2 separate regions of the Homo sapiens genome follow, and region 2 is linked to region 1. The links are contacts of gene promoters, found by promoter capture Hi-C in human tissues and cell types (Jung and others, 2019). All regions are on one chromosome and are shown on one strand. Each heading gives the region's core, a stretch centred on a gene start or on the middle of the fragment in contact. The rest is flanking DNA. Distances are from core to core; before and after follow the strand shown. Region 1 holds the start of CLDN15 (claudin 15). Region 2 has its middle 70 kb from the start of CUX1.

Evidence for each region. The method cuts DNA at HindIII sites, captures the fragments that hold promoters and counts their contacts. A contact is called where the count stands out against the background at its distance.
Region 2: a fragment that was not itself captured here is called in contact with the fragment with the promoter of CLDN15 in region 1 in 2 of the 25 tissues and cell types used here (mesenchymal stem cells and small bowel).

What each region holds. Positions count from the first base shown.
Region 1 is chr7:101,236,416-101,239,248 of GRCh38, reverse strand. CLDN15 (claudin 15) reads left to right here and starts at 1,447. Exons shown (of 5, transcript NM_014343.3): 1 at 1,447-1,884. The coding sequence starts at 1,668. The HindIII fragment of the contact is 32,734 bases long and covers 1-2,833 here.
Region 2 is chr7:101,746,118-101,748,950 of GRCh38, reverse strand. No RefSeq gene overlaps it. Among named protein-coding and RNA genes, the nearest start is that of CUX1, 70 kb to the left of the region's middle. The HindIII fragment of the contact is 5,608 bases long and covers 1-2,833 here.

The DNA of each region.
Region 1 (2,833 bases), core at 198-2,697:
CCACCCTCCCCTCCCTTTGTCTTCCTGTGGCCTCCCCTTCCTCCTACCTCCTCCTCTGGGGGAGGGGGAGCCCAGTAGGGGAAGGAATCCTGCATCTGGCATGGAGTAGGCGGGGGTCCCGGGAGAGGTCAGAGCCCAGGGAGCCCCAGCTCTCGCCTGTGGGCTGGAAGGTCAGGACTCAGCCCCACCTAGCCAGCTTCGCCCCCTCGTGCCAGGCTCGGCATGGGCCTGTTTTGCTTCACCGCATACCTCTCGTTCCACAGCCCAGGCCAGCACAGGAGTAGGGAGGAGACACCTGAGGGGAGGCCGGAGAAGCCCAGCAGGGCCGTGGGGCCAGGGAGGTGCGCAGCCAGCGCTGATGGCCCCCAGGGACAGAGCCCTAGGGAACCGGAGCAGGAGATGAGAGTGTCTGCTCTGGGACAGGTGCTCTGCACTGGCTCGGGATGGGGACCAGAGGCTGCTAATCCATCATCATTAACGAATAGAGTGGGTGACAGTCCCTGATAACTGGGAACAGGTTGCAGAGCTTAGCCACAGGATCACGCTCCAGGCTGTTGGCCAGCAGGACCAGGCTCGATGCTGAGTCAAAGATCAACTTAGGAGGAAATTTGAGTTTTGGGTGAGAGCGACTCCCTGGTGGCCTCAGCCCTGTGACACTCACATCCAGGACAGTTCCCGGTGCCAAGCGCTGGTTATGTGTGGGGGGCTTGACTCCCTGGTCCCAACGAGGTCTCAGTGTGTTGCCCAGGCTGGTCTTGAACTCCTGAGTTCAAGCAATCGTCTCAGCCCAGCCTCCCAAAGTGGTAGGATTACAGGCGAGAGCCACTGCGCCCGGCCCCTGGTCCCAGTTCTCACCACAGCCCCTGCAGTAAGCAGTCGGGTATGTCACTGACAGAGCAGAAGCTCAGGGGACTAAAACTCCCCGCCTGAGTTCCCTGGTGAATGGATGGTGGGGCCGAGTTCCATTCCAGGCTGGATGGAGCCCAGAGCTGTGGGTCTCCTACCCTCCCATCCCCTCATTCCAGCTTGATCTTCCTTAAGAGACTCATACGCCCCAACCCCTTGGTCTGAGTATCTTAGATTGTTCTCGTGGTTCCTCCGTCCTTCACCACTGAAGGCTGCTGTTCATTCTCTCTCCGTCTCTGTCCCTTATTGCTCTCACGTCTGTCTCTGTCATCTTTTCACTCCTTGTCCCTCTTACTCCGTTCTTTGGCCCCCAATGAAAGCTGAGTCAGAGACAGACGCTTCCCCTCAGTTCCCAGTGCCTCCCTTGGGGGCCCCTCCTTGGCTGTATCCGTCAGTGGCTCCAGGGTAAGTCTGCCCCCCCCACCCTCGTGGGGCGGGGAGCCCGGGGCAGCCCAGAGGCTGGGGGGAGGGGGTGGACTTTTGGCCCGTTTCGGTTATTCCCTCCATCTCGTCAACAGCTGCCGCGCGCAGGCTTAGCTCATTCCTCTGACCTGCCAGGAAGCAGAGAGACCCACAGAGCAGGAGGGAGGCAGAAAGTGGAGACGGACCTGAGCCCGAGGAAGAGGCAGGCAGAGGCTGAGGCTGATTCCACCCCAGCCTGCCTGGACAACCCTCCTTAGCCGCAGCCCCTTCCAGTTCCCTAGGGGTTCTGCCCCTCCCCCTCTCTGGGGCACCAGCCCCCCAGGGTCCTGCATCCCACCATGTCGATGGCTGTGGAAACCTTTGGCTTCTTCATGGCAACTGTGGGGCTGCTGATGCTGGGGGTGACTCTGCCAAACAGCTACTGGCGAGTGTCCACTGTGCACGGGAACGTCATCACCACCAACACCATCTTCGAGAACCTCTGGTTTAGCTGTGCCACCGACTCCCTGGGCGTCTACAACTGCTGGGAGTTCCCGTCCATGCTGGCCCTCTCTGGTATGGGGTGGGGAGCGCTCCAGGGAGAGAGGGCGGCGGGGAAGCTGCAGAGACCCCAGGGGAGGGCGGGTACTTCCGTGAGGATGCAGGGAGCCCTGAATTAAGCTCTGCGGGTCTGAGTTCCCGCAGCCAGGAGTGCTGGGGGCGGCCCATGCCTAGAACTGGAGTGAAGACCTTGCCACACGTGGCCCCCTGCGCTAGTGTGGCGCTTTTAGCTGTTACAGGTGCAGGCACCAGAATCAGACCCCCTTTCCCAGCCCTGTGCTGTGGGCAAATGATGAAACCAGCTTCATCTCCCACCTGTAGGGTTAGGGTGAGAGTCCCAGTTCACAGGTGACTGAGAAAGTGCAGAATGTTAGCGTGATGTTAACACACATAGGCACTCAGTACGGTTGAGCATGTTTTGGGGGTGGGATTGCTGGGGTGGGCAGGGGGAGGAGGCCCCATCTTGGATTCTTAGAGGTTGATCAACTTCCAGGCTCCACAGACTCCCCAGCCTCACTGTCGGGGGGCACTGGTCTCCTTGTCCGGCTGATGTCTATAAAGGGCCCCTGTGAAGGGAGGCGTCTTGCAAGTTGCAGGTTGAGCGTCCGCTGTAAGGAGGCGGTGTGTGTGCAGGTGTGTGGGGCTTCCAGGACAGTGTCTTTCTGGGGTCTTAGAGGGCTGGAGCCAACAGCTCTTTGGGCCCAGGGCAGTTCTTTCTGTGGCTGCGGCACCTTCCCGCTCCCTGCTCCCCGCTAAGATGAGGCCGCCCCATTGTTTCTCCGGGGCAGTCTCCCTTCCGTCTGCCCTATGCCAGAGACTGAGCGCTGGCGACCGTGAACTGTGTGTGGTGCCGCTGCACGCCCTCCTGGGTCCTTCAGGGCCAGTCCACTCACCAGGCACCGTGTGGCAGGGAAGGAGCCGAGGGCGACACTGGCTGTGAAGCGGGGCTTGAGAGCTCACCCCC
Region 2 (2,833 bases), core at 152-2,651, 510 kb before region 1:
TTTTTAGTAGAGACAGGGTTTCATCATGTTAGCCAGGATGGTCTTGATCTCCTGACCTCGTGATCCACCCACCTCGGCCTCCCAAAGTGCTGGGATTACAGGCATGAGCCACTGTGCCCAGCCCCCCATCTCTATTAAATATACAAAAAAAAAAAAAAAAAAAAATAGCCAGGCATGGTGGTGGGCACCTGTAATCCCAGCTACTTGGGAGGCTGAGGAGGAGAATCGCTCGAACCCGGGAGGCGGATGTTGCAGTGAGCTGAGATCGCGAGACTGCACTCCAGCCTGGGCAACAAGAGCAAAAATCCGTTTCAAAAAAAAAAAAAAAAAAAAAAAAAACCAATTCCTTGCTATGGCTTTCCAGAGTCAGGGTGAAGTTCCAGAGACCCAGGCACCTGGGCTGGAACCCCAGCCGTGCCAGGTACCCCTGGTGATCTAGGGCACATCCATTTGCCCTCCCCCCACCCGAGCCTCAGTTTCCCCATCTGTAAAGCAAAGGCAATGCATTCCTTCACTTTCTAGTTCTCAGGGGTTGCTGTGGGTGGTGAGACAGGGCCCACGAAGGTTTGCGGTGCGGGGTGGGACGCAGTAGGACCCTCATGGGGTGACTGGTGAGTACAATTGGCCATCCTTTCTCTCCAGCCTCCGTGGGGAGGTCGCCTTGACTCGCAGACTTGGCTTTGCTCCATCTGTGCACGGCTCTCTTCCCTGGAGCCTGAGTGGAATGTTTTCTCTTCCCTCCTCCTCCTCCTCCTCCTCCTCTTCCTGTGACCGTCTGTGGGATGCCTCCAGTGTCCTGGGGTCCCCCGGAGGCGGCCCGAACCCTCTCCCCGCCCAGCGCGGCCCCTCGGCCCACCAGGCTGTTTCCAATTTGAACACCATGCATCTTGTCTCTGAGATCACAGCCGCCTCTTTGATGGAACTAATGATGATCTAGGACTTTGGGGGCCCCAGACCTCCCCAAACTGAGATAAATCCTGCCTCTGTGCAGACAAGGGGCCTCCAGCCCGGCATCTGATCCCCCTCCTCCGGGCTGGACAGGGAGGGGAGGTGTCTGTGGGAGTCCCCTCCCGGCAGGCTGGGAGGGTGGTGGCTGAGTCCAGGGAGACAGGAAGAAAGGGATTTCTCTGAGGCTCCAAAGAGGGTCCCACAACCCGGTGGGGGAGGGTGGCAAGCTTGTGAAAGGGCCTCTTAGAAGGCGGTCTGATCCCATCACAACCCAGGACACAGCTGGAGCAGAAGGCAACTTACACAGGCCAGCCTGCTTCTCAGACTCAGTGCCACTAACTGTTCCTGGCACCTTGCTTGCACCGCTGGGGACGCAGGGAGGAATGACTCTAGTTTCTGCCGCCAGGAGCTCGTGATGAGGGAGAGGGATGGGTAAACCAATGACTCCAATATTGCGTATTGAGGACTGCAATGGTGAGGACCCCAGGGGCTGTGGGAGCACGGCAGATAGGACCTGACGCAGCCTGTAGAGCCTGGAAGGCTTCCTGGAGGAGGTAGCCCTGATCTGGGTCTTGCGCAGGTCCCACAATGAGCAGATGATGTGCCCTGTCCATACAGAATAAACAATAAAAAATGATACTAAACCCTATCAAGCTTGCCCAACCTGCCTTGTTTGGCTGTTGTTGTTCTGTTCTGTTTTAGGCTTTTAGCAGCCTGAAACCATGGTTTTTAGTTTCTGTCTCTAGTGACAAGCGGAAAAGAGGGATGAGGAAGGGGATTTACTGACCCAACCAGAAACAGAAACTAAGAGCCTGTGACTGTATTCTCTCCCTTGGACACCCCTGAAACCATGAAACTTACACATATGCTGAAATTAAAATACCTTCTTTCTAGATTTTCTGATCGGAAAATTTTGGATCCGTTCATCAAAGAAGCTTTATTTTATTATTATTATTATTAATTTTTGAGACTGAATCATGGTCTGTTGCACAGGCTGGAGTGCAGTGGTACGATCTCAGCTCACTGCAACCTCTGCTTCCCAGGTTCAAGTGATTCTCCTGCCTCAAGCTCCCGAGTGGCTGGGATTACAGGTGCCCGCCACCAGGCCTGGCTAATTTTTGTATTTTTAGTAGAGACAGGGTTTTACCACGTTGGCCATGCTGGTCTCGAATTCCTGACCTCAGGTGATCTGCCCTCCTCAGCCTCCCAAAGTGCTGGGATGACAGGCATGAGCCACCACACCCAGTCTATTATTATTAATATTTAGAGATGGGATCTCTGTCAACCAGGCTGGAGTGCAGCAGTGTGTGATCATAGCTCACTGCAGCCTCGAACTCCTGGCCTTAAGCGATCCTCCTGCTTCAGCCTCCCAAAGTGCTGGGATTTTAGGTGCATGCCACCATGCACTTAGCCCATTTTAAGTTTTTAAAGAAATGTGAGTTGGACTCTGGTGAGCAGCAGAAGGTGGAGGAAGAGGAAGTGAAAGGTGAAGGAGGCAGAGGAGGAGCATTGAGTGCTGGGAAGGAGGAGGCACTGGCTGGGGGCTTGCCCTGTCTAAGGAGGGGCGTCCTCCAGGAAAATCAGACTGTTCTGTCATTCATGATCTGTCCTCCAACCTCTAGGAGCATCGCCCCCACCCCTTCCATAGCCGGGGGCCTGGCTCAGAAGCACAAGGTGCTCAGAGATACCAGTGAACCCCAGGGTAACAGTCGGAGTGGGCTTCCTGGAAGGGTCTGGAAGGACACTGACTTATCACCTCATAGCGGCTCCTCACTCTTCACAAGATAAAACTAGACTTTAGAGGGCAACTGTGGTGTGGCTCACACCTGTAATCCCAGCACTTTGGGAGGCCGAGGGCCTCTTGAGGCCAGGAGTCCAGGACCAG